Linked DNA regions of Homo sapiens: all the other regions are linked to region 1. Evidence: promoter capture Hi-C in 16 types of primary human blood cells and fetal thymus (Javierre and others, 2016). All regions are on one chromosome and are shown on one strand. Each heading gives the region's core, a stretch centred on a gene start or on the middle of the fragment in contact. The rest is flanking DNA. Distances are from core to core; before and after follow the strand shown.

What was found. The method cuts DNA at HindIII sites, captures the fragments that hold promoters and counts their contacts. A CHiCAGO score of 5 or more calls a contact.
Region 2: the fragment with the promoter of GNS here is called in contact with the fragment with the promoter of TMBIM4 in region 1 in 4 of 17 cell types (non-activated CD4 T cells, M0 macrophages, naive CD8 T cells and 1 more); the score reaches 6.3 in non-activated CD4 T cells.
Region 3: a fragment that was not itself captured here is called in contact with the fragment with the promoter of TMBIM4 in region 1 in 1 of 17 cell types (monocytes); the score reaches 5.4 in monocytes.
Region 4: the fragment with the promoter of KICS2 here is called in contact with the fragment with the promoter of TMBIM4 in region 1 in 2 of 17 cell types (activated CD4 T cells and total CD4 T cells); the score reaches 6.2 in activated CD4 T cells.
Region 5: a contact is called between a fragment that was not itself captured here and the fragment with the promoter of TMBIM4 in region 1, in 1 of 17 cell types (fetal thymus). The highest score is 6.8, in fetal thymus.

The regions. Positions count from the first base shown.
Region 1 is chr12:66,165,918-66,171,666 of GRCh38, forward strand. It overlaps TMBIM4 (transmembrane BAX inhibitor motif containing 4), which reads right to left and starts at 4,079. Exons shown (of 7, transcript NM_016056.4): 1 at 3,938-4,079. The coding sequence starts at 4,034. RefSeq lists enhancers at 3,231-3,330, 3,813-4,337, 3,981-4,060. The HindIII fragment of the contact is 2,376 bases long and covers 3,379-5,749 here.
Region 2 is chr12:64,758,016-64,763,529 of GRCh38, forward strand. It overlaps GNS (glucosamine (N-acetyl)-6-sulfatase), which reads right to left and starts at 1,391. Exons shown (of 14, transcript NM_002076.4): 1 at 1,070-1,391. The coding sequence starts at 1,261. LOC124903113 (small nucleolar RNA U13) reads right to left here and starts at 2,958; the gene lies at 2,853-2,958. It also overlaps a transcript of TBC1D30 not described here. RefSeq lists an enhancer at 1-817. The HindIII fragment of the contact is 13,978 bases long and covers 1-3,002 here.
Region 3 is chr12:64,795,223-64,800,460 of GRCh38, forward strand. It overlaps a transcript of TBC1D30 not described here. Among named protein-coding and RNA genes, the nearest start is that of TBC1D30, 27 kb to the right of the region's middle. The HindIII fragment of the contact is 627 bases long and covers 1,224-1,850 here.
Region 4 is chr12:64,220,863-64,225,958 of GRCh38, forward strand. It overlaps KICS2 (KICSTOR subunit 2), which reads right to left and starts at 1,434. Exons shown (of 3, transcript NM_152440.5): 1 at 1,141-1,434. The coding sequence starts at 1,375. It overlaps LOC124902952 (a long non-coding RNA gene), which reads left to right and starts at 1,487. Exons shown (of 2, transcript XR_007063347.1): 1 at 1,487-1,681. RefSeq lists enhancers at 958-1,077, 1,148-1,207, 1,242-1,836, 1,318-1,407, 1,558-1,747 and 1 more. The HindIII fragment of the contact is 7,597 bases long and covers 1-5,096 here.
Region 5 is chr12:67,270,043-67,275,332 of GRCh38, forward strand. The region is part of intron 1 of CAND1 (cullin associated and neddylation dissociated 1); the gene reads left to right. Among named protein-coding and RNA genes, the nearest start is that of CAND1, 3.3 kb to the left of the region's middle. RefSeq lists an enhancer at 1-82. The HindIII fragment of the contact is 1,853 bases long and covers 1,498-3,350 here.

The DNA.
Region 1 (5,749 bases), core at 2,829-5,328:
TAAATTTTGATGTCATCCATCTATTTTTACTTCTGTTGCCTGTTTTTGGTGTCACGCCCAAGAAATCCATTGCCAAATCCAATGTCCTCCTATGTTTTTATCTAAGAGTTTTATAGTTTTAGGTCTTACATTTAGGACTTCGATCTTTTTTGAGGTAATTTTTGTATACAGTTTAAGGTAAGCATCTAATTTCATTCTTTTGAATGTGGATATTCAATTTTCCCAACACCATTTGTTGAAGAGACTGCCCTTTTCTCATTTGATTGGCTGGGCACAGTGGCTTATGCCTGTAATCCCGGCACTTTCGGAGGCCAAGGTGGGTGGATCACTTGAGCCCACGAGTTTGAGACCAGCCTGACTAACATGACGAAACCTGTCTCTTCTAAAAATATAAAAAATTAGCTAGGCATGGTGGCATGTGCCTGTAGTTCCAGCTACTCAGGAGGCCGAGATGGGAGGATCACTTGAGCCTGGGACATTGAGGCTGCAGTGAGTTGTGACTGTACCACTGCACTCCAGTCTGAGAGACAGAGTGATACTTTGTCTCAAAAAAAAAAAAAAAAAAAAGAAAAAGAAAAAGAAAAAGGAAGAAGAAACACAAATGGCAAATAAGTATATGAAAAGATGCTCAACATTATAAGTCATTAGAGAATTACAAGTTAAAGCAACAAGGAGATGCCACTACACACCTATTAAATGGTCAAAATCTAAAACACTGATATCATCAAATGCTGACGAGTATGTGGAACCAACAAGAACTCTCATTCATTGCTGGTGGAAGTGCAAAATAGTACAGCCACTTTGTAAGACAGCTTGGTGATGTCTTATGAAACTAAACATTCTCTTACTATACAACACGGCAATTGTGCTGCTTGGTATTTACCCAAATGAGTTGAAAACTTATGTCCACACAAAAACCTGCACATGGATGTTTACAAAGCAGCTTTATTGACAAAACTTGGAAGCAGGCAAGATTTCCTTCAGTAGGTGAATGAATAAACTGTAATGCATCCAAACAATGGAATAGTATTCAGCACTAAAGAAAAATGAGCTATCAAGCCATGCAAAGACATGTAGAAAACCTTAAACGCATATTATAAGTGAAAAAGGCCAATTTGAAAGGTTACATGATAATTCCAACTATACAGCATTTGGGAAAAGACAAAACTATGGAGACAATAGAAGATCAGCAGGAAGGGAGGGATGAACAGGCAGAGCACAGAGGAAGGCAGTGAAACTATTCTGTATGATACTATCATGGTGGATACATGTCATTAAACATTTGTCAAACTCATAGAATATACAACACTAAGAGCGAACCTTAACGTAAACCTTGGTCTTGGGTGATAATGAGGTGTCCAGTCTAGGTTCACTGATTGTAACAAACATACCACTCTGGTACAGAACGTTATTAGTGCAAGAGGCTTGGGGAAAAGCAGAAAGGGTATATAAGAACTCTGTTCTTTCTGCTAAATTTTGCTATGAACCTAAAATTGCTTTTAAAAAATTAATTGGGCAAAGGACTTGAATAACATTTCTCCAAGGAAAATGTATAAATGCCCCACACGCATACTTTTAAAATGTGCAACATCATTAAATCATTAGAGAAATGCAAATCAAAACCAAAAGGACATACCACCTCACACTCATTTGATGGCTATTTTCATTTTAAAAAGAAAGAAAAGAACGGAATGTGTTGGCAAGGATGTAGAAAAAGGTGAACCCTTGTGCACTGTTGCTGAGAATGTAAAATGATGTAGCCCCTATCAAAAACAGTATGGCCGTTCCTTAAATAATTAAAAATAGAACTACCACACAATCCAGCAATTCCACTTCTGGGTATATATTCAAAAGAATTAAAGCACGGTCTTGAAGAGGTATGTGCACACCTATATTCATGACAGCACTATTCAAAGTAGTCAAGAGGTAGAAGCAACACAAATGTCCATCAATGGATGAATAAACAAAATTTGGTATATACATACAAAGTACTACTACTGTCTTAAAAAGGAAATTCTGCAGCCAGGTGCAGTGGCTCATGCCTGTAATCCCAGGACTTTGGGAGGCTGAGGTGGGAGGATCGCTTGAGTCCAGGAGTTCAAGATCGGATGGGGCAACATGGAGAAACCCGTCTCTACCAAAAGTACAAAAAAATTAGCCAGGCCTGGTGACCTGCATTTGTAATCCCAACTACTCGAGAGGCTGAGGCGGGAGGATCACCTGAGCCCAGAAGGTAGAGGCTGCAGTGAGCAGTGATCTCACCACTGCACTCCAGCCTCGGTGGCAAAGCGAGACCCTGTCTCAAAAAAAAAAAAAAAGGAAATTCTGACATATGCCACAACATGGATGTATTTGAAGACATTATGCTAATTGAAAAAAGCCAACCACAAAAAAACAAATACTGATTGTATCTAGAGTAGCCAAATTCACAGAGAGAGAAAGTGAAATGGTGGTTCCAGGGACTGGGGGAAGGAAGGAATGGGGAGTTAATAGGTATAGAGTTTCAGTTTTGCAAGATTAAAAAGTTCTGGATATTGGATGGTATATAAGTTTAGTCTAAAGCTATGCCTTTAGATATTTTAAGTTCAGCCTAGGGGTTCTCGGTATATAGTGAACTATAACCTAGTAAACAGGCTGTAACCTACGCTTGAACCAATCACTGAGTTTCAGCCAAAGATGGCCACGTGTTCAAACCATGTTCAAACGGGCAAAAACCAAGCTGTAACCAATCAACTCTTTCTGTACCTCACTTCTATTTTCTGTACCTCACTTTACTTTCTCTCTCCATAAATTTTCTCCCACCAAGCGGCAGGACTCATCACTCTGAACCTTATTCTGGTTCCGGGACCTGCCCAATTCGCAAATCATTCTGTGCTCAAACTCCGTTAGATTTAATGTGTCTAAAGTTTTTCTTTTAACAGTGCACAACCATGTGAATAACTTAACACTACTGAACTATACACTTAAAAATAGTTAAGACGGTAAATTTTATGTTACCTGTATTTTACCACAATTAATTTTTTTTAAAAAAAAGCTGAGTTCACTGGCCAAAATAATTTCAAAATTCAATTCCAAAAATATAAATGCTAGGCACCAAGATTCTTGGTGCATCAGAACTATCTTCATCTTTCCTTTTCCAGAACAAGTTCTAGGCACTAAGATTCTTAGCACATCAGAACTATCTTCATCTTTCCTTTTCCAGAACAAGTTCCAGCTGCCTAAACAGGCTGAAAGTCTGGGGCTGTTTCGGCGATCAAATGACCAAACTAGAGCAGGCAATGGCTTCCACGTAGATGAAGCTGAGCATTTTAAATTCAAAAATTTCTGCCCATTGGCTACTACGTAATAACTTAAAACACAATTTAGACTGACTTAGGAAGCTTCTGTGTTGAGCAACTTCCTCAATAATCCTCAAAGACCTGTTGCATTCTGGGCCCTGCGGAGAGGAAATAGTGCCGTCAGGGAGCTTCCAGCCTAGCACAGGACGGTAAATATAAGCCTGTAACGCGAAACCCCACAGAACAAAAACATCAGGCCGTGGATTCCACTCGTGTGTACGTCAGTCACAGTGATCAACCGACTCATTTCCACGACGTTTCTTTTCACTTCAAGATGCCAAATTCAGGCTGCGGCGGTTTCCATCTGTCCCTTCCTACACCGCGGCGCCCGCTGGGGAGCCGGGGCGCACACAGGACAGCCGCAAGCCTTCTGGGCCTGGCGCCCTCCCACACCCGCTAGGAGGGGAGGAAGCGCCTCCCCGACTCCCTGAGGAGGGCGCCAGTCCTCTGGTACCCGGAGAAGGAGGGCCGGGAGCTCAGTGAGCACTCCCTGTGAGTCCCAGGAGATGGCCGCTCTCCCTCGGAAGCCGGAAGTCGGCTTCTAGAGGCCGAGCAGTGCAGACAAGCGGCTGGGAGGCACTGGAGAGGGGACAACGTACCCATTCGGATGTGCACGGTGGCGGAGGCCACGCTGCTGCCATAGTTGAAGTCGTCCTCGATCGAGGAGCGAGGGTACCGGGGGTCGGGGTCAGCCATGATGGCAACAGCACCCCTACCGGTCCCGGTCCACTAACCGCAACCGCCTCCTCCCCACTTCCGCGAGGAAGAGCCCAGCCCCAGCAAGCCGTGCGGCGTCGGCGGGCGAACACCGAGCGAGTCGATTTTCTCGCTTCAAAAATTCCAGCTGGGCGGAGAAAGCGGGGATGGCTCCGAGTTAGAATGGAAGAGAAAACGGTTTACATTCCCGGCGTCATCTGAAGTGAAACTTTTCTCAACACACTTTTTTTTTTTTTTTTGAGATGGAGTTTCACTCTTGTTGCCCAGGCTGGAGTGCAATGGCACGATCTCGGCTCACCGCAACCTCCGCCTCCCGGGTTCAAGCGGTTCTCCTGCCTCAGCCTCCCGAATAGCTGAGATTACAGGCGCCTGCCACCACGCCAGGCTAATTTTTTTATATTTTTAGCAGAGACGAGGTTTCACCATGTTAGCCAGGATGGTCTCGATCTGCTGACCTCGTGATCCGCCCGCCTCGGCCTCCCAAAGTGCTGAGATTACAGGCGTGAGCCACCGCGCCCAGCCTGAACACACTTTAAGTCCTTTCACCTTGGAGAGTTGCTAAAGTGATAGAACCCATGTCCCAGTCACCCATCCACTCAACAAATACCCATCTCATTCATCCACTTTTTCAATAATCACACCGAGGATGCATTTTTACTTCTATTATTTTAAAATAATAATAATACCTACATTTATTGAGCACTTTCTATAAACCAGGCTTTCTGAATGAAGTAATATTTAATCCTGAAAGGCAAGTAGGAGCCAACCAGAGAAAGAGCAGTGATGTAGGCTGGGCCTCAAGGGACCAACGTCTGCAAAGAGGGAGACGGTGAAGCTCAGCTGGTGTAGGGGACAGGTGGCAAAGAATGAGGCTGGATAGATAAACAAAGGCCAGATCATCCTAGGCCAGAAGTAGAATACATTGAAGAGGGCCATTACCAAAGGCAGAGAAAAGGGGATAAAGTTGTATTACTGTAAGAGAGAGATGATGGTGGCAAATACAATGGATTAGAGTGAATATTCATGATATTGTTGTCATTCCAATATAAAGAGGTGTAGACATACCCAGAGTAGTGTCATCCTAGGGTCCCTTGGAATTGTTTTGATGAGTTTACTCTGATCTACCCACATTGCCCAGTCCTCACCTTAACCACAACACCCGAACACTTAGCAAGTGGAATTCAGAACAGTTGTGGAACAGTCTATTCTAAACTAAATCCTTAAACTTGATGTTCTCAGAAGCCTTTGCCAAAAGAACTAACGTCACTTCCACAATGACAAGAAAAACAAAACAAAACAAAAAAACACTTTATCTTTTATGATTTTACAAACATTTTACAAGCATATCATTTTAATTTGTTTTTGTTGGTTTGTTTTGAGATAGAGTCTCAGTCTGTCACCCAGGCTGGAGTGCGGTGGCTCTATCTCGGCTCACAGCAGCCTTGACCTCCTGAGGTCAGGTGACCACCCCCGGGTAATTTTTTGTATTTTTTGTAGTGACGGAATTTCGCCATGTTGCCCATGCTGGTCTCGAACTTGGGCTCAAGTGATCCCCCTACCTCGACCTCCCAAAGTGCTGAGATCACAGGCGTTAGCCACTGTGTCCGGCCCCTCGTTTTAGTTTAGTTTGTTGAATGGATAGGTGAATGGGATATGGCCTCTATCTCTTTAGTCACTCTCCAGGTGAGAGGACT
Region 2 (5,514 bases), core at 141-2,640, 1.4 Mb before region 1:
CAACTACTCATGTCTTGGGCAAGTTGCTTTCTGGGCCTCCATGGGGAAGGGGTTGGAGTGGATGTTTCCAAAGGTCACACATTCCATAATTCTGCAATACACAAGCAAAATTTACTCTGGAAAAAAAATGAAGTCTTGTGACAACACCCATTAGATAGAAAATGAAACACTGACAGTCTCTAATGCAACAGTCAGGTGTTCAATCACACTAATTGAATTTTCTTGATTCTTGTGAGGCAACACACACCCTCAATAGTTCGACGGTCGGCCTACCAGATTAGTTCACTTCAGGCCTTTTTTTTTTTTTTTTTTTTTTTTTTTTTTTGGAGACGGAGTCTCGCTCTGTCGCCAGGCTGGAATGCAGTGGCGCGATCTCGGCTCACTGCAACTGCTGCCTCCCGGGTTCAAGCGATTCTCCTTCCTCAGCCTCCCAAGTAGCTGGGACTACAGCTGCGCGCCACCACGCCCAGCTAGAATTATTGTATTTCTAGTAGAGACGGGGTTTCACCATGTTGGCCAGGATGGTCTCGATCTCTTGACCTTCTGATCCGCCCGCCTCGGCCTCCCAAAGTGCTGGGATTACATGAGTGACACACCGCGCCCGGCCCAGGCTTATTTTTATTGACATCAGATACAGACATTGTATACAGGCACAAACGTGGAGGTGGTCTAGGTCCCTCATAAAGGGGACTGGACTTGTCTGTGATCCTCTAATCCAAAAGAAAAACAATCAGGCCTTGAGTGCTCTTAGACAGCACCTGATCCTCATTGGTTCAACCCATCCTCCACTGGTCTCCACATGTTTATCTTGAGATATTAACGTAAACTCCACAGCAGTACGGTCCAGACTAGAAGCTCTGTGTGCTGTACGCATGTGCCTCAATCCAGAAAGGAAAAGAGTATTGCAGTCCCTTACACCGGCATAAAGGGCCTCAGGTGGGAAAACCAAACCTACCCAAGGATAAGACAGCCAGTTCGGGGAGGAGGGTGGTGGGGACCGGGAAAGAGAGCAACAAACCGGGTAGTCAGCCCAAGAGATAGAGGGGCGGGGCAGAAACAGAAGAGTTACCATGCCGCCGAGCACTTCGTCCTGGTCGTCCGTGAGGAGCAGCACCACGTTGGGCCTCCGGGTTCCCGCAGCCACCCCGAAGACCCCCAGGCAGCCGCCCAGCACCAGCAGTAGCAGCGCTGGGCTGCAGGAGGGCAGGTGGCGGGGGCTGCCCCGCCGGAGCCGACCTGGGGCTAGAGGCAGGAGCCGCATAGCGGACAGGCTCCGGGGTGACCCCGGGACGGGACGGGACGGAGGGACGCACAGGTAGCTGAAGGGCGAGAGGCCGACCAGCCGAAGGAATAAAAAGCCGTGCCTTGAAGGCCGGTGGCTGGAGTCAGACGTTTTCTCCCTAGGCGCGATCACGTGAGCCAGGGACAGGGGGCGGAGCACGCTGCGCGGTCACGTGACGGCCGGCGTGGGCGGGGCTGCGGACTGGCGCAGCCTGGAGGGAGGCATCAGGCAGTGGCGGAAAAGGGGCGGAGAACCGGAGAAAAGGGCGGAGAACCGGAGAAAAGGGCGGAGAACCGGAGAAAAGGGCGGAGAACCGGGAAAAGGGCGGAGAACCGGGAAAAGGTCAAGACCTGTACGTACCTCTCGCGCAGGCTCGGGTTGCGTTCTGGTAGGACGTACGTGTTTCTGAGCGCTTGGTGGAAAGATTTAAATGGGGGGAAGAGAAGATGAAAAGCAGGAAAGAGTTGGCAAATACTAACCAACCGATAAAGGAAGAGAAAGGAGGACTGTACATAACAGAAATTATCATCAGCTGGTGAGGAAAGTGGACTCTACCATATTTAATCCCCAAGTCGACGGGCACTTATTCAAGGCCCGGATGTTTAATCGTTTTTAATTTTCTCTACAACTTGTGAGATAAATCTTAACATTCTCATTTGGCTCAGACATTAAATTCGGAACTGGTTAGCTCTCTTAACTCCAAAGCCTAATTATGTTCTTCTTTCCTCAGCAGACATCGTAGTTTCAAACAATTTAGGGATGTCCTGACAGCTTTATCCTAATGGTTATCCTAATGGTCCTTGGTGACTTTTTAAACACCCTCTTGGAACATGTTGGAGGATGTGCAGATCGAACAAAAATCTTGAAACGTGGTCATCCAACTGCATTATTAAGTAATCTTTAGCGGGGAATAGCCCTTGAAACTAGCTCCAGATATTTCTGTGGTCGCTCTGGAATAATTAGACTTTGCCCCTCTCCTCTCACCGCCCACCGTGGGCGCGGTGGCTCACGCTTGTAATCCCAGCACTTTGGGAGGCGGGTGGATCACCTGAGGTCAGGAGTTTTAGACCAGCCTGGCCAACGTGGGGAAACCCCGTCTCTACTAAAATACAAAAATTAGCTGGGCGTGGTGGCAGGCGCCTGTAATCCCAGCTACTCGGGAGGCTGAGGCATGAGAATCGCTTGAACCCGGGAGGCGGAGCTTGCAGTGAGCCACTGCACTCTGGCCTCAGGGACAGAGCGAGACTCTTGTCTCAAAACAAACAAACAAACAAAAAATCACAGAGATATTCCTGGCAAGGTGAACTGTCAAGTCACATCCCCAGACCGATATAACAAGGTATACCTCCTTGCTGGTAAAAGTATTTTCTCTGAGTTGAACTGTTTGCCAAGAAGAGTCTCTTAAAACTCGTGAAAACTATTCCAGAACTTAAAGTATTAAAAAAAAAAACTCGTGAAAACACTATACTATAAGGTAAAAATAATGATGGAAACACGTTGAAACCTGATGTGTACAAGGATAGGGCTTATGCAAAAAAAAAAAAATTACCTTTATTACTTTGTTTTTTTCACACAGAGGGGTAATGCGCGGAGTCCTAACAAGGTTTGAGGTAGGGGTGGTAACTCACACAATAGCATGAAAACCCAATCATCAGGCTTATGAACCACAAAAGGATCTTAATACTTTTTTTTTTTAAGTAAGCCTACAGAAGGCAAAAGAAGCTTTAAAAAAACTGAAGTAGTTTTTCTGCAAGAAACAATTATGCCGGAAGTGTGGTCAGAGCAGTTCCTAGACAACCAGAATACTTGGTTACAGCCTTGGCCTAGGCCAATTTTTCAAGCTGGTTAGAATAACTAATCCTTCTGTATTCAGGTTTCAAGACTTCCAGGAAGACTTTCTTGCACAAAAAAATAACCTATTTCATCTGTATCGAAGCCCCAAATTGTAAAATTGTTTCTTTTCTATTTTTTTCAAGGTTAGATTATAAACTATTTGAGGCCAGAAATTGTGTAATTAGTTGCCCACTTTGTTCAGGATGCTGCTGTCAGAGGCGATTGAACCAGAGCAACTCCATCTTGAAAAGGGGCTGAGTAAAATAAGCCTGAGGCCTGCTATGCTGCATTCCCAGATGGTTATGCATTCTAAGTCACAGGATGAGATAGGAGGTCATAAAGATACAAGATACAAGATGCATGTCATAAAGACCTTACTGATGAAACAGGTAGCAGTAAAGAAGCCGACTAAAACCCACCAAAACCAAGATGGTGATGAAAGTGACCTCTGGTCGTCCTCACTGCTAAATTCCCACCCAGCGCCATGACAGTTTACAAACGCCATGGGAATGTCAGGAAGGTACCCTCTCTGGTCTAAAAAGGGGAGGCATGAATAATCCATCCCTTGTTTAGCATATCATCAAGAAATAACCATAAAAATGGGCAACGAGTAGCCCTCGGGCTGCTCTGCCTATGGAGTAGCCATTCTTTTATTCCTCTACTTTCTTAATAAACTTTCTTTCACTTTACTCTATGGTCTTGTCCTGAATTCTTCCTTGCTCGAGATCCAAGAACCCTTTCTTGATGTCTGGATCAGGACCCCTTTCCGGTAACACTGCTACACTAGTGCTGAAGAGACATTGTCCCTCGTTCATGGAATTTGCAGTCTAATGGCAGAGAGATGGACAATCTAATCTTGTATCTTGTATATGATTACAAATAGACATGCTATGAAGGAAAAGTAAAGGGTGCAATGAGCATTTAAGGTGGTGGGAGGCTGATTTAGTCTAAGGTGCCCTGAGGAAGTGATCTTTGAGTGAAATCTGAAGTTTGAGTAGGAGATAATTTGTTAATGGAGTATTGGGGTGGTGGAATGTCTCCTAAGCACAGAGTACAGCATATGCAAAGGTTCTGAGCTGGTGCATTGCAATAACTAAAAGAAGCCAGTGTGGTTAGAGCAGAGGGAGAGAGGTGGTGAGGACCCAGATCCTATTTTAAGGACTTGGGTTTTTATAGTAAGGCTAATTGGAAATTACTGAAAGAATGTAAGATAAATATAATCATACATGAACTTTTAGAAGATCCTTTAGACTGTGGCATGAAGAACAGATTGGAAGAGGACAAGCATGGGTGAGGGTAGACCAATTAGGTAGAGAGAAAAGTGGATAACAGGGACAGATTCAAATTTTGTGGGGCCTGAAGTTTATGTGCATTTGGCGAGTGGAGGCTCCTTAAGAAAAAGAATAACAATTTTAGATACAAAAGTAGGTACACAACTGAATATGTATTTAGACTAAAACAAAATATAACGTTATAAATTTTTAAAAGTTGAAAAATATTACAAATAATGCAAAAATTTAACGTAACATATTTTTATTAAGTAACTGCCAGGCATACTTCTTCATACTTTTTTCCCCTTACATTATATGGCTATGTGCTCTTTAATCATCTCTTCATATGATGTTAGTTTATAATATTTTCTAAAGAAAATAGAAAGATAATTTAGTTTTTTCTCTAGTGTGTTTGATCAGTATTTGCCTTTTATTGGTGATAATTCAGAAAAATTATTTTTCACCTCAGTTCATTATTGGTTTTATATATATGTTTAGTATTTTTGTCAAATTTCAGAAAACTCTATCAAATATCCTCTTAACATAGGCATTTCGTGACATTCTGCATTTTATTTTGTATTATTTTATTTTTTGAGATGGAGTCTTGATCTGTCTGCGCTCTTGGCTCACTGCAACCTCCACGTCCCAGGTTCAAGCAATTCTCCTGCCTCAGCCTCCTGAGTAGCTGGGATTACAGGCATGCGTCACTATGCCCGGCTAATTTTTGTATTTTTAGTAGAGATGGGGTTTCGCCATGTTGGCCAGGCTGGTCTCGAACTCCTGACTTCAGGTGATCTACCCGCCTCAGCCTCCCAAAGTGCTGGGATTATAGGCGTGAGTTTTATGTTATCTTCCTCAATGCTAGTGTGAGATCAAATCGAAAGAAATTTGAATATTTTTCAATGAGTTTATATAATTCACAAGTTGTCAATTTAATAGCCTATTTATTACTTTCATTTGCAGTTTATCTCTTCCTCTTTCCAGCTTTATTGAGATATAATTGACAACAAAATTATGTGTATTTAAGGTGTACAACATGATGTTTTCATATACGTATAGAGTGTGAAATGATTATTCTCTTCCTCTTAATGAATTACTGTTTTTCTTATGATTTAAACTTTTTTTGGT
Region 3 (5,238 bases), core at 287-2,786, 1.4 Mb before region 1:
TCTTCAAGGAAGAGTCTTCTGATCTCCTGCTCGAAGGGTGAAGGTCTGGCTGCTGGTATTTTGGGAGCCGAGTGGGGTGAAGAGAGCTGGGAGTCTCTGCATTCAGTATGCATATGGCCACTGAGTCCCTGTTTTAGGTAAGGTACTCACCCTCAGCTGGTTGTCCAAGGACTCTGTTATCACTCTCTTCAAAAATAAGACTCTTAAACTTTTGCAGGGGTGGGAAAGTGGTAATTGCCCAACCTTATGAAGAGAGGAACGAGGGATCCAACTACTTCTCAACAGCCTTCTCCCCATATTTCTTGTCAAGCCTCCTGGGGAACTGGTTGCCAATCCCCAAGTCTCTTGTGGACTGTGTAGTATAACATAAGTTGGATTTCAGCTTTCCTGTTAGTTTGGGATTTGGCTTTCTAGGATCCTCTGTCAATTTATGTTTGTTTGCTTTTCCAGCTTCAAAAATTCATTGCTGTTCTCCACGCTCCTTTTTTTTTTTTTTTGTCCTTCACTCTGGTCCTTGCGGGTTATGATTTAAAAATTATCTTTACAATATTTTTAGTGTGGTTTTGGTGGGGACCAAAGTTAGATGCTTTTTTTTTTCAATCTTCCGTCTTACCCAGATGTGCTTTTTCCTTTTTCATAAACTCATTTCTTTTGAGAGACAAAAATAAGTTATCATTTAGATTAGGGTAGATTTGCCTTAAATTTGGAATTTGCCTGCAAAATTGTGAATTTAATTACAAATTTGTTAATATTGATAACCGTTTTAGGTATGTTTTTGATATATAATTAGCAGCCTGGTCTACCCTGAAATAACTTAGAATATGACTAGATGAAAGAAACTGATTGAGCTTGCATACAGCATATTTTAGCAACAGTTTCTCCTCATTTTCTTTAAGCTCTTTAGCATCTTAAAGTTAAGAGTTTTTTTTTTTTTTTCATTTTGTCATAATTTACTTGTGTTTCTTATGACCTCGTTATAAAGGGGTTGATTTGTAGGAAAACTGAATCTTAGTCACGGTAATTGGGAGCTACTAGAAATTTTTAAAAAATGATCTCCATTTACCCACAACCTTTGGTTGAGCAAAGGGAAACTTGGAAAAGTTGAACTTTGCTGAAACTCACTCAGCTGGTTAGTGACTCAGGAGTTTTTTGTTTGTTTTCTCTTGTCAGTTATGGCAAGAGAAAACTATATATACAGCCAGCAGGGGGAGCTCCTTCCCTTAAGCTTACGTGAGAGAAGTATTATACTATTTATGTTCTCTGTATTGCCACAAGGGTAAGACAGCCTTTAAGACTAAAAATGATACAACATCAGATAGACACCATATGAAAGAAATAAAGGGAACTTTTGTTGGAACTACCATGTATATGTATTGTGACCATTTTTGTGTTTAGTTATATTATGAGAGAATACTTCTAGAAGTGGGGATATTTTGCAATTTATAGTTTAAAAAGAGGCATTTACATTAAACCATTTTTTAGAGACTATATCTTTCAAAAGCGTTATTCATTTAACAGATATTCTGTGTTTACTATTTCCCACACATGATTGTAGGTGCTGGGAATATGGTAACAAGCAATATATCAAGATTAAGACCTCACGATTTGAAGTTCTTTTATACGAAGTGTAAATACAAGCCTAAAAGAAATACTTTTTCCCCCAAAAGAATTGACTCTTTAATTTGGTAGGACAATCAACTGCATTTTTCCTATGTCAACAGCAAAATATAAGATGATAATATGACTTATACTGAATGCTTACTTTTAGGAATTTCACATATATCTTCAAGTATCATTCTCCTCTGCAAAAAAAAAAAAAAAAAAAAAAAAAGACTATTCCAGTGTTCTTAAGCTTTGCTGCATATTGGAATCACTTGAAAAATTTAAAAAGGCTATTAATGCCTGGCTCCCCAGCCCAGACATTCTGCTTTTACTGGCATGGAGTGTGATCTAAACATTGTGATTTTTAAGCTCCCTGGGCTATTCTAATGTGCAGAAAAGTTTGGGAACTGTTGGACTGTTTCCTAATAGTGACAGCTTCCTGAAGACAAGCTCCTTTGAATCTCTTTTCTTCCTGTTGTGTCACCTTGCACAACATATTTGACCTAGCAGTGATCAATAAACATCCAGTGCTTGGTTTCTTACTAACTCTGCTTAGAGTTTATGGTCATCAGCATAATGACTCACTTGTGTACATATTTAACTTATTTATTCCACTCTTTGTCATTTTCACCTTGCAAAACCCCAAGCCTGATTAAACTCAAGTCTCTGCACATTCTGTCTCTGCATCTACCTAGCTAACTGCAGCTGCAGAAACACATATCATGGGGACGACTCTCTTTAAATATGTGACCACCAGCCTCACAGACACCCTTGGTACAACCAGCAATCCTATGATATTTCTTTAGTCTGTTCATACTCTCTCTCTCTTTCCCTTTTTACATCCTATTTTCTCCCCTCGCTCTCAGCTGGTGATTTTTGCTGTGTATTTTAACAGAGAAAATGTAAGCAATCAAAAGCGAATGTCCTCATACTCCCACCTGTATAGGTGGCATTCCTCTGAACCTCGAGATGAACTGTTCAGCTCTTCTGGGGTACCCTGGATCCATCTTGTCTTCCCTACTCAAGGAATCATCCTTCTTCTTGTCTCTCTTCCTTCATCAGGTTTTCCATCTCTGCTGGATGATTTCAACCAGTATAGAAGCATGTCATTTTATCCTTAATCTGAAACCAAACATTAAAGTCATCTCTACACCTCTCTTCAGCCATCATTCTGGTTTTCTGTGCCTCTGCTTTTTCATCTGTAAAATGGACAATAGTATTGGCCCTACTTACCTCTTAGAACTATGTTTTGAAGACAGAATTGAAAGTACTTTGAAATGTTAAATGTGTACATGTATATATGTAATTGTTTATAAATTCAAAAGTTCTGTGTTGAGTACCTGCTGGGTGCTAACATGCAAAGAAGAAGAAAAATATACAGTATCCTCAGTGAGCTTTCAGAAGAATAAAGTCAGAGAAGCAAATAAAAAATTACAGTATAATAGTTCTAATGGAGGTTGTGGTATATTGAAATAGATTTTTTGACAACTGCCATTTTTACACATCATGTGCTGACATTTTGAAGTATTCTGAATCCATCTTTCCAATATAATCAGCTAACAAATGGTGGTTTTCACTGTACCAGGTTTCAGCTTGACATTCCAATGAGTCTTACACTGTTTCAGGATAGAATTATGTATTTTTATGAAATTGGAGGAAAATGCTTAGGAGAAGGTGTTGCTGACATAGGAGAATTTCAGGCAAGTCAAGGCTGATTTGATATTCTCAAGACAAGGACTCGTTTGAGTGGTATTAGACTACCTGAAAGACCTCCTATTGTAAAATTTAAAAACCTTGACGTTTGCTCAATTATGCAACAGAGTTATTCTGGGGATGAGTGGTAGAAAGATGGAATGGGAGCTCAGAGTGTTCTCTGTGTATGCAGATCCTCTTCTCTTCTTGGTTCTCTTTCCTTGGGACCACTTCTTCAGGGTACAGACTGGGCCTCAGCATCTGCCAGGCTGGTCTGGCTTCAGGCACCTTTTTTTTTTTTTTTTTTTTTTGTTGAGACGGAGTCTCGCTCTGTCACCCAGGCTAGAGTACAGTGGCACGATCTTGGCTCACTGCAAGCTCCGCCTCCCTGGTTCACGCCACTCTCCTGGCTCAGCCTCCCGAGTAGCTGGGACTACAGGCACCCACCACCATGCCCAGCTAATTTTTTGTATTTTTTAGTAGAGACGGGGTTTCACCTTGTTAGCCAGGATGGTCTTGACCTCTTGACCTCGTGACCTGCCCGCCTCGGCCTCCCAAAGTGCTGGGATCAGGCACCTTTCTTAAGAGCAGGGATGGAGAAAGGTGAGAGAAGCCTGGGCTTCTGACGATGTGCCTCTGGAGAGCTGATGGGATGGGAGGGGGGCACATTGGTTGAGAACATGGACTCTGGAGCCATGTCCCCTGGGCTCAGATCCCAGTTTTGCCACTTACTAGTTCTACAGTCTCATGCAAGTTCCCCGACCCCTCTGTGTTTCAGTTTTCTCATCAGTAAAATGGGAATGATGGTACTTTCACTTCATAGGATGGTTATGTGAATTAAGTGAGTTAAAGTATGTAAAATGTTTAGAAAACTGTCTGGCTGTAGTATTTACTACTACTGCAATAATTCCCACTGTGGGAGGTTCAGAGGTTGCCTTTGCCATCAGCATTTGCATCCTAGCCTGTGTAAGGCAATTATGAAGGTTGCTGGGCTTTTCACTTATAAAAGAAATTGATGAGATGGGTTATTTGAGGAGCAGGTGTTGAATAATCACTGTTAGGGATAATATAATTTTTTAACTCTTCGGGAAAGGATTGCTTCCTCTTCTCCAATAACATGCAAGAAGAGTGCTCTTCCTCTGTGTGTTTCCATTGAGAATGTGATACGTAAATGTGTCTTGGGGATACATGTTATATCTGATGGTCAGCCTTGTGTGTACAAAGGGCAATAGGAGCAAAGGTGGGAACCACCCTAATCTTCAAAGCACTAGGGAACATGGGGAAGTGCGATTAGAAAAGGCTGATAGAGGCCGGGCGCAGTGGCTCATGCCTGTAATCCCAGCACTTTGGGAGGCTGAGGTGGGCAAATGACGAGGTCAGGAGTTCCAGACCAGCCTGGCCAACATGGTGAAACCCTGTCTCTACTAAAAATACAAAAAATTAGCTGGGCGTAGTGGCAGGTGCCTGTAATCTCAGCTACTTGGGAGGCTGAGGCAGGAGAATTGCTTGAACCCTGGAGGCGGAGGCTGCAGTGAGCTGAGATCGCGTCATTACACTCCAGCCTGGGCTACAGAGTGAGACTCCCTCTCAAACAAAACAAAACAAAACAAAAGCCTGATAGAAATGTGCCCTGTGGACAGGGGTAGGAGGGGTGGCAGACATTCCATGCAGAGATAAGGGCACAGAGGCTGAGGGAGCATCAGGTATTTGGGATACTCTTGGTAATCAACAATTGCTAGATACAAAACTAGAGGCTGGAGGGAAGTGGCAGAAGTTGAGACTGGAGTTTAGATTGTGTGTCCTGTAGCAATATCTCCCTGAGCACAAGAGTGATGCGACTGGGTTTTCATGTTTCAGAGGTCATTTTGACAGCAGTGAGGACAGGCTGGATAAGGTGAGTGGATGTGAGGAGTATTGGGAGAGGCGAATGGAATCAGCTCGTAG
Region 4 (5,096 bases), core at 184-2,683, 1.9 Mb before region 1:
ATAGCAGCAACTGCAAATTTGTGAGAAATGCCATTGTAAAAAGGGGAGGAAAAAAATAAGGTGAAACTATCTGACCAGTTTTTGCTAATAAATTAGCATACTAAATAAGTATGTATAAATCAACATACTTGCTACAGCAATTACGAACTCAGGAAGCCCTGTCTCTTGAGTGTTTACTGAAAGCTCAATAAGATGTACATGGTCACCTTCAGGCAATATAAGGAAAGTAGGGGGCTGGTTAGGGAACGGGGGGGGGTGGATCAAAATGAAATCTACACCAATTTTACATTTCTATTCTCTGTATTTTATATACGTGTCCTTCATTCACATCAGACCTCACGCTTCTGAAAATTGAAGAGTCTAAAACAGGTCAAAGTACTGACTCTGAAACCCCTAGGATTCAAATATATTTATTTGTCATAATTAAGCAGTAATATTATTTTGTATGCATATTCCATGCCTTTTACATCTATTATTTCCTTCTCATCTACTTATACTTATTGCTTCTACTAGTAAAAATCAGTTGAATCAGCTCTTGAATCTTATTTCAGAGGCAAGATGTACATGAAGTGCTAAGAGTGTTTACCATTTTCCCCTTAAGTCTCTTCTTGCTAGTGTTAGGCATATTTCTTGCCTTTCCTGCCCAATATTCATTTATTACTTTAGTCATTAAATATGTATTGGGGGACTATGAAGACGGGGTAGGACTCTAAATGTGACTCTCGGGCCTTAACCTTAAGAGGCCACACAACAGTGTTCAGTAATAGAACTAGGTTGTTTTGCAAAGTTTTGCTCTTCTGGCTGCAGCGTCACTAATTAAAACAATGAAGACATAGTTTGGTTAACTTCTCATTTATGGCATCAATCCATGCACGAGGCAAAAGGGCAAACCCTTCGGTTTGGGTCACAGCCCTGCAAAGAGCATCTACCCAGTTCGCCAATCTATCAGCAGCGCAGGCCGGTGGGCGGGGCTTGTGGAAGCCCAGGGAAGGAAAGGAACGGTGGGAGGAGATCTGGGAATGCCGAGTCGAGCCTGCGACTAGAAGTGACACAGAGACGGGAAACCCAAGCCACTGCCGACTGGGGAATATACCCCCTTTACTTCCTCCTCAAGGGGCTCGGGGGGCGGGGCGGAGGTACCTAGTTTCTGCCCCAGGTAGGTGAGGCTGTGATAGACCTTCTCGGCCGCGGCCAGGTGCGCCAAGGCCGCCAGCAGCGACAGCCAGCTGCCCCCCGCGCTCTTGTTGGCCTCTCGTTCCTTCTCCACATTGTCCTTAGCCTTGTCGTAAGAGAAGATACCCAGGTGAGAGAAGAACGTCTCCAGCACCGCCTGTTCCACCGGGACCGGGGCGGCCAGCGGGATAGACTCCCCCATGCGAGCTGCGCCCCAGCTCGACCCACGTGGCTCTCCTCGGCCTCGCACTTCCGGGTTCTGAGGGAACGGGCTTGCGCACAAGCGTGCGTGCGCGTGACCGCCTCCACCGGCGGACTCGTGAGCGCGCCGCTGCCGGGACCGCTCCTGGGCCTTAGAGAAGACGCGGATAAGGGCCAAGGAAAGAGGGAGGTAGCGGTTGCTGAGCTCCTTCGGCGCTTCGGCTCCTGTAGCTCTGACTATTCGGACCGTCAAGGTAGAATAGGAGGCGGCCAGTTCCCCGCTCTAAGAAGTTGCCTGCGCTCTGAGGTGAGCTGACAGGCCCCTCTCTGTGTGGTTCGTCAGCGCTGGTGACGTCATGCAAACGTGACGTCAGCCCTGGCCAGAACATCTGGCCTGGGCTCTCCAGGCACCTCGCTGGGCCGGCTGGGAGATGGGGAAGTGCCTGGAGTTGTGCCCACACTCACAGCAGGGACCCTAGTCAGCCCTGACACCTTCTACACCAACTCATGGAAGTGATTTGCTGAGATTAGAAGACTGACGGGTAAAGGTTGATCTCCTTCCCATTGCCTAGTTTTCATCACATCACACACCACCGGTTAACTCTCACCTGTATCCCGTTCTAGTTCTCCCGGGTCTGTGTTAGCCCTGCAACTAATAAGTAGAGCCCCTGGCCCAAACTGCATTAACCTTCCTTAAAAAGTTATCTTTTTTTTTTCTTTTTTTTTGAGACGGAGTCTCGCTCTGTCGCCCAGACTGGAGTGCAGTGGTGAGATCTCGGCCCACTGCAGCCTCCACCTCCCGAGTTCAAACGATTTTCCTGCCTCAACCTCCCTAGTAGCTGGGATTACAGGCCAGCGCCACCACACCTGGCTAATTTTCGTATTTTTAATAGAAACAGGGTTTCACCATGTTAGCCAGGCTGGTCTCAAACTCCTGGCTCAAGCAATCTTCCCACCTCAGCCTCCCAAAGTTTTGGGATTACAGGTGTGAGCCACCACCCCTGGCCAGAATGAAGAATACATTAATGTAAATTGTGCACGTTGTCATTTAGAATAATTACAAGTTCCTTTGGCATTTAAGAAACCCCATGAACCCGGCTCATACTTGTATGTCCACTACTTTGAAACACTACCCACTACTCAATAGTTTTTTCCTTTCTTCTTTGTGCATACTTATTTTATGCTTCTTAGTCACACTATTTAATCGCATATATTTACATATCTCTTTCCCCAAGTGGTGAGATCCCTAGGGTACAGTAGGGTTCACTTACAGTTATAATCTTTTCATATTGGACGGCGCAGCCATGTTTGTTGAACAAATGAGAGAATTGCCTATTTTCGTTTTTTCTCAAACTAGAGCTGTTCTGCCATCATCACTACCTTTTAAAGGAAATCCCACTAATCTAATTTTAATGAATAGGTATTGTGCACCTGTTCCCTATACTCAAGAATGTAATTGGATAAGATCAACCCTGTTAACAATGATACAAGGCAGTTTTTTTTTTTTTTGGTTGTTTTATTTTGTTTTGTTTTTGGACAGGGTCTCACTCTTTCCCCCAGGCTGGAGTTTTCCCCAGGCTGGAGTGCAGTGGCATGACCTCGGCTCACCGCAACCTCCGCTTTCCAGGCTTTAGTGATTCTCCTGCCTCAGCCTCTGGAGTAGCTGGGATTACAGGCCAGTGCCACCACACCTGGCTAATTTTCGTATTTTTAACAGAATTGGGGTTTACACCATGTTGGCCAGGCTGGTCTTAAAATCCTGACTTCAAATGGTCTGCCCGCCTCGGACTCCCAAAGTGCTGGGATTACAGGCATGAGCCACTGCGCCCAGCTTCAAGGAAGATTTTTTTTTTTTTTTTTTTTTTGAGACAGAGTTTTGGTCTTGTTGCCCAGGCTGGAGTGCAGTGGAGCCATCTCAGCTCACTGCAACCTCCACCTGCCGGATTCAAGTGATTTTCCTGCCTAAGGCCAGCCTCCAGAGTAGCTAGGATTACAGGCATGTGCCACCACGCCCTGCTAATTTTGTATTTTTAGCAGAGACGGGGTTTCTGCATGTTGGTCAGGCAGGTCTGGAACTCCCGACCTCAGGTGATCCTCCCGCCTCAGCCTCCCAAAGTACTGGGATTGCAGGCGTGAGCCACCGCGCCTGGCCAAGGCAGATTTTTAAACATGACAAAGGTGAAAGACAGAGAGTGAAGGGAGCAATCATACCATTTTGGAAGAATTAAGGAGGCTTCCTGGAGGAGAGTGTGATGATTCTTGATGAATAAATAGAGGTAATCAAAAAAAAGTGTGGTACTATCACCAAAACCAATAGACAATAAAAGAGATTATAAAACTCATAAACATACCCACATAATATAAGAATTCCTTAGGTAATGAAGGTGACATTATAAATTAGTGGGGAAGAAACATACTCAATTAGTAGTGAAGGAAATATGCTTAACCATGGGAAAATAGACTGTCACCTTGTTTCCTGAAGAAAAAAAAAGTGTAAAACACAAAACCAGAAACCAGAAAAAATACAAGTGACTAATTGATCTAAAGATAGAGAAGGACCTTCTAAATATAAAAGAATTGGAAGAACTTAAAAAGGATGAGATTGATTTGACTGTATAAAATACCTAATGTAGATGACGGGTTGATGGGTGCAGCAAACCACCATGGCACATGTATACCTATGTAACAAACCTGCCCCATGTATCCCGAAACTTAAAGTATAATAATTAAAAAAAAATGACATCCTGGGAAAAAGATATCTGTAATGTATGTCAGACAAAGGTTTAATGTACTTAACATATCAAGATCTCTTACTAACCAACAAGAATAAAAGGACATGAATATATAAGTCCCAAAAGAAATATAAAACTCAAGTAATTCTTTTTTAATGCTCAACCTCACTAGTAATCAAAGAAATGCAAAATAAACTATATTCTATGTTTCATCTACCAAACTAGCAAAAGAAACTGTTTAATTTTATTTCAATGGTTTTGGGGGTACAGGTGGTTTCTATAGGAATAAGCTCTGTAGTACTGATTTCTGAGAGTTTTGGTGCACCTATCACCTGAGCAGTGTACACTATACCCAGTGTGTGGTCTGTTATCTCTCACCCCTCTCCCAACCTTCCCTGCGAGTCCCCAAAGTCCATTATATCATGCTTATGCCTTTGCATTCTCATAGGTTAGCTCCCAAAAGAAACATTTTAATTGCTGATAAATGTGCAATAAACATCTCCCCATTTTCCCCACCCCCAAGACCCTGGCAATCATGATTCTACTCTCTGCTTCTATGAGTTCAACTTTTTTAGATTCGCCATATAAGTGAGGTCATAGAATATTAGTCTTTCTGTGTCTGGCTTATTTCACTTAATGTAACATCCTCCAGGTTTATCCATGTTGTCACAAATGTCAGAATTTCCTTACTTTTTATGGGTAAGTATTCCATTGTCTTGTATTTACTACATTTTGTTTATCTCTTCACTCATTGACAGACACATTGTTTCTGTATCTTGACTATTGTGAGTAATCCTTTGGATATAAATGCAGAAGTGGAATTGCTGGATCGTATGATAGTTCTATTTTTAATTTTTTGAGGAACCTCCATACTATTTTTCTGTAATGGCTGTATCAATTTATATTCCCACCAGCAGTGTACAAGGGTTCCTGTTTCTCTACACCCTCAGCAACACTTGTTATTGCTTATCCTTTTTTTTTTTTTTTTAA
Region 5 (5,290 bases), core at 1,174-3,673, 1.1 Mb after region 1:
CCCACATCCTTCCCTGCCCCACCAGGAGGCGATTCTTGCGTCTCAGGTAGCGCGAAGGGGCTAAACCACCCACCATTGTGGAGAAGGGAGTTGCTCTAGGCCGGGAGACCGGGCGCCGGGCCTATTCGCTTGCCATCCTGCGGCGCTAGGCCGCCTTGCTCGCTGGGGCCCAAGCTGCTGCCCACTCGGGGACCCGGCAGCCTCCTCTCTGCCCGCAGGTGCGCGTGGGCCTTGCTGCATTCAGGTGGAATGATGAACTTTTGCGCTCTTGGCTGATACATAGTTCTTTTGTGGATTATTAATTTTCGTGAAGGTGGGAAGAAGGGGGAGGGGAGCCAGGATGGAGGAAACTTCGCTCATAGGGTTTTCCCGCCAGCATCACTGTCAGTTCCTCTTGTCAGGTAAAACCAACTTAGGAACTCGGGGTTTCAGTCTCATGTCCTCATATCCAAAATCACTGCCAAAGGGGTGGATTGCTGGATCTTAATCATAGCAGACGGATCTTCAAAAGGAAGAGATGTTTAATACGGACCTGGTGAATATGAAGCTTTATTACAGCAGTTCTGTTCAGGAGATCGGTACTGTTGGTTCCAAAGTGTTGTAATATGCATAGTGAAGATTTGTTATATTTTTACAGGTTATCTTTGTTTTTATTTTTCCTTGCACGCTTCGGTGATTGTTGCATTCTTTCCCGCCTCCCATCTCTTCACAAATAAGTTCTCAATCTAAAAAAAAAAAAAAAAAGAAAAAAAAATCGCTTATTTCCTTATACCTGTTTTGTTCTCTAATGCTTAGTGGTTGTAATTTGGGTGCATTTTAAAGGAAATAACAAATAGTCTTCAACTAAAATTGTGACTAAAGAGCTTGTTTGTTTTGTATGAACAATATGTTTTAACACTTGAAAATGTGTCCAAACCGTGTGGACTGGGAAGAACTTTTCGGATTTGTGAAAGGAGAACCATGAAAAAGTAGTAATTGTGTTCCTGATTAAATTGATATACTGGCTTATTAAAATAATCAATGACCACAAAACCACGTATTACTTTAAAAAATATTTCTACCTAGGCAGCTCTTAAATGTATTTAAAACTTAAAAATCATTTCGCTAATGGTAAAAATTTTAGTATTGTAACTTTTTGGAGGTGACATGTTTGTTTTGTGTGTTTTAGATTTGTGTAGTTCTAGGGCCAAAATTAAGATTCTTGGGGGAAATAAAGGTTTTGTGTTGTTTTACGGATTGGAATGCCGTTTGATTTTTGGGGCTTTGCTTGCTTCCAATTCAAGTAATGGATGAGGTGTGTGGCGTGATTTCCTCCCCATTGCTGTCAGTTTGGCTCATCCTGTAAAGGTGGTAAATTTCATTCTGATTGTGGTCAATTTCAGTCTGAAGGTAGCACTTTATAATAATACAATTTTGTTCAACTAGTCATTCTCCTGTATAAGTTTAGAAAGGCTAAAGAAATTATGTGGTGATACCATACATGTGATTATTGACTGAAGCTTGCTTTCTTAAATTTCCTGTGAAAGAAAGATAACATGTACATACCTAGTTGTTTTTTTCTTAAATAAATTACATGAAAGAAATAGTGCTCTGATACTAAATGACAGTCACTGCTGAATTTGGTAAAGATTATGTATGAATTTTGGTTGTACTGAATCAAAACAATTCCTGGAGGATTAGTGTAATATTGATATATTCCTAATAGTTGGTGAATGCTAAACAAGGTATATTTAGGAGCAGTACGTGATTTCCAGTAATTTGGCATCATTAAGATATTTTTATCAACTGTCTTCTAAAAAACATTTTTATAATGCGCTGTAGCCATCTAGTTAATAAACAAGTCTTTGGAACTAAAGCACTTTATATGTTTAGTTTAAACAGACATTTAATAATTAATTAGTGAGCGTTTGGAGTCAAGAATTTTGAAATTTTTTCTGCATATTTTTAGTATAGGCATTTATTTTAATTTGCTCTTTTTTAAAAAAATGATGCCTTGTTCTCATTAGAAGTTTATTTATTTTGGCTTAAATACCAAGATTTGTGGCTACATATTTTAAAAATACCTAGCACTAGAAGGATCTTGAGGGCAAGGTTAACATTATGGAATGACCAACATGTGCAAAGCACTCTGCCTGTACTAAGGACGAGAGAAGAAACAAATGCTGCCAAAATGAAGAGCAAATTTTATTATCCTCATGGTAGAATCCAAAGAGAATTTGACCTAGTCACAAGATCTGGGTTCTAATCATGTGTGATTCTTTGTTATGAACTGTAAGATCTTATGCAAGCTATTTAATTTGAGATTACATTTTCACTTCTGAGAGGCATGGACATGACTAATTACAAAAGGTTGTTATAGGCATAAAATTTCAGGTCTATTTATATAATTACATAGTTCATTAATACAGAGAAGGTAAAGAAATGAATGCAGGCTTAAAAATTTGGAAATTTCTGCATTTTAAAAGAATCTTTTTGTAGGACTATTAAGGCTCAATTTATTGAAAAATTGTAATATTTCTTTTGTGTTTTAGTATTGTGCATTATTTAAAAATGAGATATTAAGACTTAGGAGAAATGGGGAAGCATTAGGATGAGAAATGCTGAGATTAGGAACTCTGCCATATGCAGGGTTTTTGTTGTTGTTGTTGTTTTGGTTTTTTTTGTTTGTTTTTTTGAGATGGAGTCTTTTCTGTCGCCAGGCTGTAGTGCAGGGGCGCCATCTCAGCTCACTTCAACCTCCGCCTCCCAGGTTCAAGCAACTCCCTTGCCTCAGCCTCCCAAGTAGCTGGGATTACAGGCACACACCACCACGCCTGGCTAATTTTTTGTATTTTAGTCAAGACGGGGTTTCACCATGTTCGCCAGCATGGTCTCGATCTTCTAACCTCGTGATCCACCCGCCTGGGCCTCCCAGAGTGCTGGGATTACAGGCCAGCACCGCATCCACCCATGCAGGGTTTTTTGTTTGTTTGTTTTAAAAAAAGGAGACTAGGAGCTCTTTTATTAAAAAAAGGAGGAGGCATTTGTGTGTCTTAATTACTAGGATAGTGCCTGTTACTTACTAGCCTCGGTTTAGTGAAAAGTTATTAATGAATGCCAATTCAAATAAAACCTTCAGAAGAAAAATGAAGAAACATTCCTTGGGACAGTACCTTAGAACAGTGCTTCTCATCACTTCCTCCCTAAAAGAAACACTTCTGGAGTGTACTGAGACTTTTTGCCAGAAAACATTTGTACCAGTGTATATAGTTATTTTAAGGACCTCTAGGGATGCATGTTCCATAAAGGAATAAAGAGTAAACCTTATAATGTAGCCAATAGATAGGGGATTCGGTTGATACCAGAGTGAAAGCTTTAATGTGGATGAACCATGTGACACTCCATTTGTGAATATTAATATTGAATATTTGGTAGGTTGAGGTAACTAAGTTCTTTTCTTTTTTTTTTTTTTTTTTAGAGATAGGGTCTCGCTCTGTCACCCACGCTGGAGTGCAGTGGCACCACCTCAACTCACTGCAGCTTCAACCTCCTGGGCTCAAGCGATTTTCTTCCCACCTCAGCCCCCAGAGTAGCTGGGACTACAGGTGCGCACCACCACACTCAGCTAATTTTTTTTATAGAGATGGGTATCACCATGTTTCCCAGGCTGGTCTCAAACTCTTGATTTCCGGCAATCTGCCCACCTTGGCCTCCCAAAGTGCTGGGATTACAGGCTTGAGCCACTGTGCCCAGCCACTTCTTTTATTTTCATATTCTTCAACCACCAGTTGATTTAAAATATTCCAAGGAATCAAGAGCTAAAGAAAATATCATTATCTTTCTATATATAATAGTTAATATTAATGCTTACTGTGAGCTTGATTTTTGTTTATCCTTACAACTTTAGTAAAAGAGGATAATAATAATCTCGTTTACAGTTGAAGAAACTGAGATTTGGAGAGATTAAGTACTTGTTTAAGGTCAGTTAGATAGTAGGTCTGGGACTTATAGGATCTCTTTACCCCCAGAACATGAACTCTTGACCACCCAGCTATGTCACTTCTCCAGGGTTTAGACTAGTGGATGTTAAGATTCAGGCCTTAAATTTCATTTCCCTCTAAAATTAGGCTTATAGAATATTTCATGCTAGAAGATGCTTTTAATAATTCCTGAGGACTACAAAAAGTTTAAGATCTGGTGCTTACTTTCCCTAAATCTACATGCTTGTTGAATAGTTAAGACACTATTGTAAAAAGATGAATAACCCAGGGCAATATGTAATTGTCAGGCATTAAGTGGCAGAGAATATTAAAGCAAGAAGATTCATGTCCATGGAGAGATTTGAGCCAGGTGTTGAAAATGAAACTCTAGATAGAAAGTGAAAATGTAAAGCACACGATACAAAACTTCACTGGGGAAGAGGGAATAGATAACCTGACTGTAGCTGGATGGATATTGTCCACAGAACTCCTTAAGAATAGGGACCTTGTCTTACTAAACGGAATCGTTCTCTTTGTCTGGCTCTGGGCCATGTGGGTTCTCAGTAGGTGCTTGTTTAAGTAGAATTGGGTTTTATTTCCATTATATAGGGATTTTAGGAACCTCCAGAAAACCATTGTAAAATCAACTAAACTGTTTGTTTAAATACCACTTGATAGAATCTTCTTAAAATAATTCACCCCATTTTGGAATGCAAGTTTTTCCCAATTTGATAAAGGTTTATATTACCAGATTTATTTATTTAAGTGTTTTGGATATTGGACGGTATTTTCTTTTGGAAACTGTTTAAAATGCTTGTAAAAAAAACTCAAGCCTTTTAAGGAATCAGGTTTTCAGAGCTGGAAGGAACCTTAGAGATCCTATCATATAGCTGAAAGTACAGTGTGGGTGGGCATTTACAATAACATAACAGGAAATAGTGAAATTATCTTAAGTACTTGTGCTTGGAGAAAAGCAGGTTTAATCAGAAGAAATAGATTTGCAGAGATTAAGAAGGTGATTTCTGGGCACTTTTAAAAATACTTAGAAGGTTGATGGCAGTAACTTTCTTGATTTTACTTTGATGTTTTTTTCTTGATATATACTATGCTAACTGGTTATCAGCAGTGATTAGGGCTCACCACTGAGAAAGAGGAGGAAGGGACCTCACAGAGAAAACTGGGAAGAAAGATTAGTAAAAATTAGATTTCTTTACATGAACAATATTAAGACTATTCCAATTTAGGTCTTGTGTGGTGGCTCACGACTGTAATTCCAGCACTTTGGGAGGCCAAGGCAGGCAGATCATCTGAGGTCAGGAGTTCATGACCAG